Regions from separate parts of the Homo sapiens genome. Here region 2 is linked to region 1. The links are contacts of gene promoters, found by promoter capture Hi-C in human tissues and cell types (Jung and others, 2019). All regions are on one chromosome and are shown on one strand. The core of a region is centred on a gene start or on the middle of the fragment in contact, and the rest is flanking DNA. Distances in the headings are between cores, read along the strand shown.

Region 1 (5,896 bases), core at 911-3,410:
AGCCTCGGTTTCTTCATGTCTATATCTGCTATCTCTCTCTCTCTCTATCTAGTCATGCAATAATTAAATTAAGAAGTGAATGCAAAAAGAGTTTTATAAACTTTAGAACCACTGTTTTTTAAAAGCTCTAGAACAGTGGTTCTCAATCAGGGGAATGTTACCCTTCAGGGGACATTTGGCCACGTCTGGAGACATTTTTGACTGTTACAAATGGGAGGTGGTGGTGTTACTGGAATCTAGTGATTAGAGAGAGGCCAGGGAAACTGCTGAATATCTTACAATGCACAGGACAGCACTCCCTCTCCCCCACCACACCCTGCACCAAAGAACTGTCCAGCTCATAATGTCAGTAGTGCTGAGGCTGAAAAACCAGGCTCTGGAATTGTACAGATTTTACAGTTAAGCAGTTATGTGACCTTGAGGGGCACCACATCCTTCTGTTTCCAAATATGTAAGATCAGAACACTGCCTGTCATAGATTACAGGATATTGTGTTTGCTAAATTTGAGAGTATACACACATGTCAAAAGTCAAAAGAAAAACAAGTTAAAAAAGGCTGGATAAATATAATAGAAAGTGATGCTGGTCAGAAAGTCAATTAGTACATTACTGGATAGTAATGTACCAAGCTGACTGAGCCAGTTCTTATGAAACTAGCCACATCGTGTGTGTGTGATGGTCATCCAAAAAGGACAAGCTACACTATCCCCTTCTTTTTGTGTCACCAATCAAATTGCTGCTGTTACTCTTCAAGGTAAGCTAAAGTCCAGCAGAGCTGAAGCATTTTTCTCCTTTAATTCCTGTTTTCTCCTTTTTCCTCCTCTCTTCTCACATTTTCTCCCTCACTTCTTCTGAGTCTGCTCCCACTCACTCTGCTACTAGGAGTGGGGAAAGCCTGTGAACACCTCAGGTTGAGGAACAAAAATAGGAGAGAAAGAATGCTCTAAAATGAGGACAGAAACCTGTCTCCAGGCCTGACCATCTGCAAACTCACTGTTACTCCTGAATATTTTTCATATGACAAGTCTAAGCTAATATTTTGGCCCAAAGCACAAACCTGGTAGACAAGAGGATGATAGGATGTTTGTTGTGGGATTAAAGAGCATGAAAAATATTTCCATACTTTCCTATTGATGTTCTGTTTGATTCACCAAATATTTACATACATGTGTGAGGGGCCATGGTAAGGAGAGTGGACCAGAGGGGATGAAGATAGTTACTGTCCCAAGGGGCTTAGAGCTAGGTGAAGAGTGAGTGGTTGCCCAGCTAATTGTGCAATAATCAGCCAAGACTCAAGTGCTTTGAGGAGGGAGAGAAAGGAGGACTTAACTGGAATTAGGGTCTACAGCAAAGACTTCTGATAAGGGGTGAAAAAAGACATATGCATATACACAGATACACAAAGCCATTTGTATATATCAAATTTATAGTTTTATATTAAATATATATAAATACATACTCATATTTACATATACCATACTCCCTTTCAGTTGAACTACTGTTGAGGGATTAATTTATAAAGGCTTCAAAAGTTGTGGTTAAGATCTTTGGATTTAGTATCAAACAGACCTTGAGGGCACCACCTTGTCCTGCCAACACCTTGATTTTGGCCCAGTGAAACTGATTTGAGGCTTCTGGCCTCCAGAATTTTGAGAGAATAAACTTGTGTTGTTTTAAGGAAAAATAAATTTAGAAAATCTTTAGTGAGGCTATATTATTGGAAGTAGAATGTGGAAGACAATAAGTGATGGATGTTTTTATTTTTAATAATTAAATACATACAATCTTATATCCACATCATAATTTGTATTTATATGATGTAAATGTGTTAAAGAATTCAAGATGAATGTATGAACTTTAGATTCAGAAATATAAAGGGGTGAACTTTGATTCTGACCCCTAGATAGGCTATCTTGCTCAATATTCAGCTCCCTGAGCCTTAACTTCCTTATCTGTAAGATGGGCATAATAGCACCTATCTCATATGAATTAAAAGCTATAATATAACAGAGGGTTCTAGGATGAGTGTTACACACAGTACATTCTCTCTATACATTAGTTTTCTCCTTTTTTATCATTCCATCCTCCCTTCTCATACTTTCATTGGAATTTTGTTGACGCCTCTTCTTTAATCACCAGGCTAATTCAAGCTGGCCACAATGGAGAATAGCACAGAAGTGACAGAGTTTATCCTCTTGGGATTAACAGATGACCCCAATCTTCAGATACCCCTCCTCCTGGCATTTTTATTCATCTACCTCATCACCCTGCTTGGGAATGGGGGAATGATGGTGATCATCCACTCAGACTCCCATCTCCACACTCCAATGTACTTTTTCCTCAGTAACCTCTCCCTTGTAGACTTGGGTTACTCATCAGCTGTAGCCCCCAAAACGGTGGCTGCATTGCGGTCAGGGGACAAGGCCATCTCCTACGATGGATGTGCAGCTCAGTTCTTCTTCTTTGTGGGGTTTGCCACTGTTGAGTGCTACCTCCTGGCCTCCATGGCCTATGATCGCCATGCAGCGGTATGTAGGCCTCTTCATTACACCACCACCATGACAGCAGGTGTGTGTGCCCTCCTTGCTACTGGTTCCTATGTCTCTGGCTTCCTCAATGCCTCTATCCATGCAGCAGGCACCTTCAGACTCTCCTTCTGTGGTTCTAATGAGATTAATCATTTCTTCTGTGACATTCCCCCACTCCTGGCTCTCTCATGCTCTGACACACGCATCAGCAAGTTGGTGGTCTTTGTGGCAGGCTTCAACGTCTTTTTCACCCTCCTGGTCATCCTTATTTCTTACTTCTTCATATGCATCACCATTCAGAGGATGCATTCTGCTGAAGGGCAGAAGAAAGTCTTCTCCACCTGTGCTTCCCATCTCACTGCTTTGTCCATCTTCTATGGCACAATCATCTTCATGTACTTACAGCCCAACTCCAGCCAGTCCGTGGACACAGACAAAATAGCCTCTGTGTTTTACACAGTGGTGATTCCCATGCTGAATCCCTTGATATACAGCCTTAGGAACAAAGAAGTGAAAAGTGCTCTCTGGAAAATACTCAACAAACTTTACCCCCAATATTAAATGTGAATGGGAAGTAGGCAAGCAATTAAGGGATAAACTTTCTCTCACACCTAAATGCCATCATGACTTTTAACGTTTGACTGGTTTCAGTTCTTTCTTCCCCAAGAACAGCGGTTACTTCTGCTATTAGAAGATGTAAAAAGCAGCACGTTGAAAGTCTTACTTAGAAAGATAATCTTATATTTAGTGAACAACAACATGGGACAGTTAAGCTTTTCTTGCTTTAGTTTCTTGACGTGGTTTAAAGCAGAAGATTGAAGCATACAAATGAATGTACCAAATTTTCCTCATCCTGTTTTTAATTGTAAGAATTTTTCATTCACTATTAAACTTGGTGTAAAGATTTCACCTTCATTTTTATCAACTGAACACACAGTATCTTTTTTATTCTTTTGTTCTGCGAGTTTGAAAGTTGGACTTTCTGAGGTAGACAAAGGATGTTTCAATATTTTAAATGATATTTGAGAGAAAGTTGTAATTTAAAGGACAAGGCACTAGATCGAGTCAGGTAGCTGACGATTAAATCTTTCCAACCCCTTACTCTCCCTTCTCTACCCACATTCCTATCCTACTCACTAGTCATGTGCCTTTGTAATTTCCATTCCCTTTTGCTAAATCATTGGGGAAACATTACACCTTGTTATATACAGAAATATGGGAATGCTTTAATAGATGAATTACTTCAACTTTAACCTGACTAAATACAACTTCCTTCGGAGAGCCTACACTATCTTTTATGTTTCTTGTCTCTGTCTAACATAATTACCAAAACTTCCAGAAGGTTTAGAGAAAAAAAGCAGTTTTCCCTAGAGCTATGAAAAAATATATTTGTTTTCTGAATTAAATGCTTGCATTTCTTAGCACCCTTAAGTTTGGTGAATCTATTATGAAGATATATAATAGCTTTCTGGACTGTCTTTGCTTTTACTTTTTCAATAATTCAGCTCACCTCTGGGTCTCCATTGCATTCCGGTGTTCTGTAATTAGATGCTACAAGAATAAAAAAGCCTGCCTGGAAATTTACTTCTTAGGAACAGCACGGTGACGCACAGTGCTAGTACACCTTCAGGTCTTGTTTCATGTGCTAGATGGTGTGAGCAAATGTGTGTGTGTGGGAAGGGAGTGGTGATTAATTTCACTTCTCACGTATCAACTCCTTGATGGTGTTTATAACTACAGTTAATCTAAGTCACCACAATAGATCATGATTTCAAAATCTCCCCAAAAAACCCAACAAATTAATTTTGACCTTATAGATGAAAACCAGAAATCTTGGTTGGCTAACTCAGTTGGCTTAAAATGTCAATTTAGTTTTCAGATTATCAAGCTCCATTATGTACAGGGCAGCCTCTGTCTGAGGAGGATAAATCATAAGTCTTCTGGGAAAAATTGCAAAGAAGGAGTTATGGAACATGAGAAACATGAGAATAGCTTTCTCTGGCACATGGTTGCCATCACCTGAAAAGATCAGGAGCTTCTGAGCCCAAGGCCTAGACAACCTATACCTCCCCCATTCAGCCCCCTCCCTCCCCTCTTCTTTAGCAATGAGGCCTATTCAGCAACACACAGGAAGAACAGCCTTTACAGGCCAGGATCCACTGCATATAGGAATCTTTCTCATTGAAATCTACAGAGCTCAAGAGTATCTGCATTTGGAGAAGAGCCTGGGAAGCAGCTATCCAAGCACTGGGTGCATTCCAATCTCAGGTACACATTTTCCCTACTTGATATAATTGACTTTTTTCCCTCCTCATCCTGCTCCTCCTTCTTTACTTCATTTTATCCTTCTCCTCTTTTTCTTTCCCAACTTCTTTCTATGCCCAGCCCAAGCAGGAACTTTCCTCACCACTAGGCCATTTAGATTTCTATAAAAAAATTAAAGTCTAGAGTCTATATATCATAACCATTACAGTATATATTAAGATGTGTATCTGGGCATGTTTATTTCTTTTATGGTTTTAATTTTTATTTCATTAGTTTTGGGGGTACAGGTTGTTTTTGGTTACATGGATAAGTCCTTTAGTGGTGGTTTCTGAGATTTTAATGTGCCCATCACCCGAGCAGTGTGCCCAATATATAGTCTTTTATTCCTCACCTCCCTCCCAACCTTCCCCCATCGAGACCCCAAAGTCCATTTTATCATTCTTATGGACATATTTTGTTATGCCTCTATACCTCAGTTTAGGCAGGAAAATGTGGGCCTCCTGAGATTTAAGGGCTCAATGTCTACATATTTATATTTTATGTTGAAATCACCTCAAACAAGTGTTCTATCTGACTGTAAATAGGTATAAAAGAGTACTATCAAAAGCTGGATGAAAATTCTAACTGTTCTTATCAATTGTGTGACCTCAAGAAAGTCATTTAGTCTTACTGAACCCAATATACAGGATAAAGTGTGAGGGTAATATGAAATTAAGTATGTGAATGTGCCCATCATAATGAATGTGTATTTCATACCATTGAGATTTCTATACTAGCTCTTTCTTCACTTAGCTCTCCCTGGACTTCTTATTTTGGCTCTTGAGCTGCCTGAGCAAAAATAGGAAGTCCAAGGACTGATAGGTGAAGCTCGTCCCATCCAAATCCTAGCTTTTATTTTCATTCCTTGTTTAACTTCCTGCCCTCCAAGTTCCCAGCTCTACAGCAGACATATTTCAAGCTGACATTACACGGGTATTCATTTATAGAAACTACTCAGAAGGAGATGTCCTGTCGCCAGCAAGACATCAATTCACAGAGTATACGTTACTGCAAGGAGCTCTTCCCTTCCACATAGGAAATCTGTCAAATGGAGACTAAATGCC
Region 2 (5,953 bases), core at 3,315-5,814, 570 kb after region 1:
GCAGTATCACGAGTGAACTCAGAGTCAGACATGAAGTCAGGACAAGAGATAGTGCTTTGAGGAGCAACACATATATAGGATTCCTTGCCCTGGAGGCCACTGGAGGTCATGAGGAGCCAGACTGAGGATAAAGAGGTATTTCCAGATCCCTTAAGGCTCCTGCTTTTGCACAAAGTTTACTTGGAGTTAAGCATCTTTTGAAGATTCCTCTGACATCCTGGTGACTACACTGACCTCTCCTGTGCATCAGTAGAGGCAGTGGCCAAAGGCAGCAGTTCTGAAGCTAAAATGAAACCTGCTATTATTCCAATACCTGCTTCTTCACCTGTCCCTGTTTTTTTATGAGCTCTCCACTCCCAGGAACAACACACAGACAGAAGCCCATTTGTCACTGGGACAGTGCTGAATTATTCCTGCAGAGTTACATTCCTACAAAACTCTGCTCACTACTGTTATCTGGCTGTGTATCTCACTGCCCCGGCTATACTGCAGACTCCCTGTGGCAGGAATCAAACCTCATCCTTCATTGTATCTACCCCTGAGACGAGCACTGTGCGCAGTACTATACTTAATCAGAGGGTAAGGAATGTGTGTGTGTGTATATATATATATGTGTGTGTGTGTGTGTGTGTGTGTATACATATATATATGCACATATTTCACTTCTTCCTTTTTGAATTTTAGGCTTCCAGGCAACAGATGATAAAAAGGATAGCAGTTGTTTTTATTCTATAAGGCTCAGGGCCTCAATCAAACACTATTCCTTCCTGAAAAATTTGCTTTCTCAATAATGATAATGAATAGCTAATATTTAATGAGCATGTGTTATATGCCAGGAATTCTGTGAAGCACATCGTACATACCATTTCATTTAACTCTCACAATAATTCTATGACTAGGTTACATCTATTTCACATATAAGGAAACTGAGAGTCCAATAAATTAACTGGACTGTGATATACAGTTCATAACTGGTAGCCAGGTCCAGCTGATTTCAAAGTCCGTACTTTCCTATAGTGCCTAAAACCTCTTGAGGTTTTGCAGAAAATTCCATAACAAGTCTACATTTCTACTGTCTTCAAAAAAACCCAAAGTGCTGCTCTCATATTTTCCACTGGGGCCCAGCTTTCTATTAATCCCAGAGAGTCCTGACTCCCACCAGTAATTTTCACTTTCTACACAACACCTGAAGAACAACTTGGAACAGGAAAAAAAGAAATGGGCTAGAAGAAACAAAAAGAATTAGAAAATGAAAGGAGGGCCCCCAGTGCTACTGCCTTGGCCCTACCCCTCTGGCCACCGAAGAGCCTGAATTCCCTAAACCACTTACCTCCTTCTCAGCTCCTTCCTGAGTCCTATCTTAATGCCAGCAAGGAGTTTTCTTTGTGAGTCACAACGAGAAAGGAGGCCACTTCTTTAAACAAGGTTTCAAGAGTGGGCAATCAGTGATTTATTGATTGAATTAAAAATTCGGGACTAGGGCTGGGAGCTGTGGCTCCTGCCTGTAGTTTCAGTACTTTGGAGGCAGAGACTAATGGATAGCTTGAGGCGAAGAATTCGAGACCAGCCTGGGCTACATGGCAAAACCCTATCTCTACAAAACAATACAAAAAAAAAAATTAGCCAGGCACACTGGCGCACAATTGTGGTGCCAGCTATTCTGGAGGTAGAAGTGGTAGGATCATGCCGGGCACGGTGGCTCATGCCTGTAATAGCAGCACTTTGGGAGGCCAAGGCAGGTGGATCACTTGAGGTCAGGAGTTCAAGACCAGCCTGGCCAACATGGTGAAACCTGGCCTCTACCAAACAATACAAAAATTAGCTGGGTGTGGTGTCTGTTCCCTGTAGTTCCAGCTACTTGGGAGGCTGAGGTGGGAGAATCGCTTGAACCCAGGAGGTGGAGGTTGCAGTGTCGCCATTGTACTCCACCCAGGGCGACAGTATGAGACCCTGTCTCAAAAAAAAGAAGAAGAAGTAGTGGGAGGATCACTTGAGGCTGGGGAGATGGAGTCTGCAGTGAGCCGAGTTTAGACCACTGCCCTCCAACTTGGGTAACAGAGCAAGACTCTGTTTCAAAAAAAAAAAAAAAAAAAATAGGGGCTCGGAGAAGAAATGATGTTGCTTGAAGTATCCAACTTGAACATTGTCCCCAAAATCAGAAAGAGATTTGTCCCAGAACCTCAATTTTTCCTTGTGCAAAATGAGGAAGTTAGAAAAGCTGATCTATGTAGGATGCCTTTTCAGACTGACATTGACATACTATATGAACCCTCTTAGGAGTATCAGTGACCCTATATACTGATGAGCTAAACTACATTCATAAAGGCAACTCTAATCATCACCATTAGAGAAATAAAGATGGCCCAAAAAGGAAACAAAATGCCCTCAGGAAAAAAAAAAATGGGATGTAAAATGCCCTCAAGTAACCCTGGGGAAAGAGTAGATTGACAGCTGGTAGCTCTTCAAAACACCACCAGAAAACCTATTGACCAGCAAAAGCTACATTGATTAGACCTACTGTAGAAAGAAAAAATATCACCTGGATGAAATCCCAGTATTTTCTCAAAAGTCCTATATTTATAGGACTTGGGGGTCTTGACTCAAGTGATACAAGGTCACTCTTTCAAGGTAGGTAACAGGATTGGACAAAGTTTGTGACATTATAGTTTAGGATTGACAGGCACAGGAAGGGAAGTGCCTGGAAGCAAATATTAATAAAAAACCATTGTTTGTTGAGCAAATTGTTTGTCCAGATGAGTAATCTATTGTCCTGATAGGAGAGCTGTTGGCCCAGAGGAGTAAACTATTTGTTCGTATAAATTGTTCAGATAAAAGCCAACAGTGATTTATTGGTTTACAGCCATATCTTCCCAGGCCTTAATTTCCTGTAACAATTAGTTAAGTCATATTGCCACAGTAAGTCTCAGTTATCAGTCCCAATAGTTAAGGTATGTGGACATAGATGACCTCAATTCTCAAGTTCATTTTATCATTTCTAAAAACCACTATACTGTTCCTATGGAAACAAACTTCTGTTCCTCTCACTAGTGACACTCTGCCTGGTTATAATCCTGAATATTTCTACAACTCTGTCCCACAGAGTGAGCAACAGGGAAATCATTTCAGCTGGAGAAGAGTTCACTGCCATAGATAGAGAACCTATCCATGCCCCGAATGGTTCAGGAATAATCAGTGCTATGGTCTGAATGTGTCCCCCAAAAAGCATGTGTTGGAAATTGAATCCGCAATGCAACAATGTCGGGAGGAGGGGACTAACAGGAGGTGTTTATGTTCCACCCTCATGAATGAATTAATACCAGTTATGAAAGGGTTAGAGGCCATGAGTTTGATCTCTTGCTCTCCCTCCTGCTCTCTCTCACCACATGTCATGACTCAGCAAGAGGGTCCTCACTTGATGTGGTCCCCTGGACCTTGGACTTCCCAACCTCCAGAAATGTGAAAAATAAATTTCTTTCCTTTATAAATGTCCAAAGGTTGATATTCTGTTTAACAATGCAAAATGGACTAAGACGGTCAGTATCCCCCAAAAATGATACAAAACATCCAGTAGAACTGAGAACAGTAATAAACTACTATGGTAATGTCAAGAAATTTTAGGATTTTTTTAAATTTAGTCAAGACCAGGTCTGCAGCCCCAGATTTCACTGGCTGTGTATAACTTTTGACAAGCACCTTCCCCTCTCTGGGCCTCTTTTCCCACTCCCAGACATTTTGAGCTAGATGTTCCTCAAGAGTTATTCCAACTCCAGCTTTCTGGGTTATTTGACTTCACCCCACCAATGTAAATCTAGCCCTTATCAAAAAGATGCAAAGATGCCAGGCACGGAGGCTCATGCCTGTAATCCCAGCATTTTGGGAGACTGAGGCAGGTGGATCACCTGAGGTCAGGAGTTCGAGACCAGCCCGACCAATATAGTGAAACCCCATCTCTACTAAAAATACAAAAATCAGCTGGGTGTGGTGGCATGCACCTGTAGTCCCAGCTACTCAGGAGGCTGAGACAGGAAAATCACTTGAACCCAGGAGGCAGAGGTTGCAGTGAGCCGAGATCATGCCACTGCACTCCAGCCTGGGTGACAGAGCGAGACTGTCTCAAACAAACAAAAAAAAAATTGCAAAGACAATAAAGGACATCCATTTGGCTGCTGATGTAGCCTTTAGATGGGTTTTCCTTTTTCCTTCAAGAGCCTGTCATCTAAGATCATGGACCCACACTACTCAGAATAGAATGATCACAATGCCATACACAAGCAAGCTCTAAAAGCTCATAGCATATTGTCTTTCCCGTCTACCACAAATGCACTGCCCTTTGGTTCTGCATCTTTCTATTTCCTAGAGGATCCTGCCAGTAAAATGTTGATGGTAAAACATCAACATTTCACTTCCAAGTGAGCTTTTCATGAAAGATTTGCTGGCCAGTATACCCAAGGGAAAAGAAAATAACTACCCCCTAATGACAGACAGGTGTGTTGACTGCCTATGCTTGCTTACTAACGATTAAGTTTGTTTGGAAGAACTTGTAAGCTGGGAAGATTGTGATCCAAGACTTTCATGGCAACATAACAACTATCTATCGGGTTTGCAAGAATGGGTTCATATAGGACCTGCCACTAACAACTAGAACCTTCTCATATTTAAAAACAAAATGACTGCCATAGGTCAATTAGCTAGATGCAGACTCAGTAAGTGCAAGGAAGCTGTTCCACAGGGGAGACAGGAAGGACTCTAACTGACAGGCATAGACAATCTGATAGTCACGATAGAGCTGGTGTCATAATTTAAAAAAGAAGTTTGTCTTTGAAGAATACTTCAGGCAACGGAGGCCGCTGTATTAAAAAACAACACCCAAATCTCATTGCCTTGCAGTAGCAAAAAAGTTTATTTCTTGCTCATGTTAATGTCCATCCATAAGTCAGTGATGAACTTTCTGCTTTTCACTCCAAGACTCAAAAGGATGTAAGAGAATACCTATGCCTTGGACTTCACTGGTGTCAAAGCAGAAGGGAAAGAAGGGAAGTGGGGAACCAGAGGTTGGCTCCTAAGGCTTCAATACTCAGAAGTGGCACAAATTACTTCCATTCATACTCCCTGAGCCAAACCCAATCATGTGGCCAAGCTTAATTTAAATGAAGAAAGAGACTGTATAACCCTTCTTATCCAAGAGCTGCAGGGAGGAACATTGACTCTTAGGCATCATCATAAACTCTACCACAAAAAGGCTGAAAGGTTGTTGCATGTTCATGAGAAGACAATTGACACAATGAAGGGGCCAATTTTTTTGGGAACCAGACAACTTGTACAGGTTGGAATGCAGTGAGGAAGGTCGGAGGACACAGCACTGCTTTACCTCTCCAGGTGAGATTCCGCGGGTCTTTCCCAAGTGAATACCTCTTACCTGCAGGAAACATGGGCAATCCAGTCCCTCTTCTGTTGAGACTTCCTCCCAGATCAGTAGTGTAGGGACTGCATCTCTTTTACACAAACAAGTTATTTGCCTAACAAGGCCCTTTTCTTTGCCTGGTGATTTTCCCTAGGGCTGTGAACACCCAAAGTGCCAGGATCCCAAGGAGAGAACAGTCTCTTCCTACCTACCTGGGAAAAGCAGTCTGTCTACATCATGTTCTCACTGGACTTGGCACTCCAGGCCCCATACCTCCTCTCAGGAGGTGTCTATCAGAGAGCTATCCATAACAGTGAAAAGTTGGAAATACCTTATTGTCAATCGATGGGGACCAGTTAAGTAAATAATGATACACATACAACAATAAAATAATATGCATCCATTAAATATGATGATGTAGGCTACTATTTATTGATATGGGAAAATGTTCATGACATCTTGCTGAGTGAGAAGGTCAATGGCAGAATAGCTTGTATAGTATGAATCTGTGTATGGAAAATTACAGTCATGAACACACTGAGATATTTATGT

The links. The method cuts DNA at HindIII sites, captures the fragments that hold promoters and counts their contacts. A contact is called where the count stands out against the background at its distance.
Region 2: a fragment that was not itself captured here is called in contact with the fragment with the promoter of OR5B21 in region 1 in 1 of the 25 tissues and cell types used here (H1 embryonic stem cells).

What each region holds. Positions count from the first base shown.
Region 1 is chr11:58,504,369-58,510,264 of GRCh38, reverse strand. OR5B21 (olfactory receptor family 5 subfamily B member 21) reads left to right here and starts at 2,160. Exons shown (of 1, transcript NM_001005218.3): 1 at 2,160-3,458. The coding sequence starts at 2,160. The coding sequence ends at 3,089. LOC105369313 (a long non-coding RNA gene) reads left to right here. Exons shown (of 5, transcript XR_007062673.1): 3 at 4,723-4,796. The HindIII fragment of the contact is 9,451 bases long and covers 1-4,886 here.
Region 2 is chr11:57,933,002-57,938,954 of GRCh38, reverse strand. No RefSeq gene overlaps it. Among named protein-coding and RNA genes, the nearest start is that of OR9Q1, 88 kb to the left of the region's middle. The HindIII fragment of the contact is 6,478 bases long and covers 1,326-5,953 here.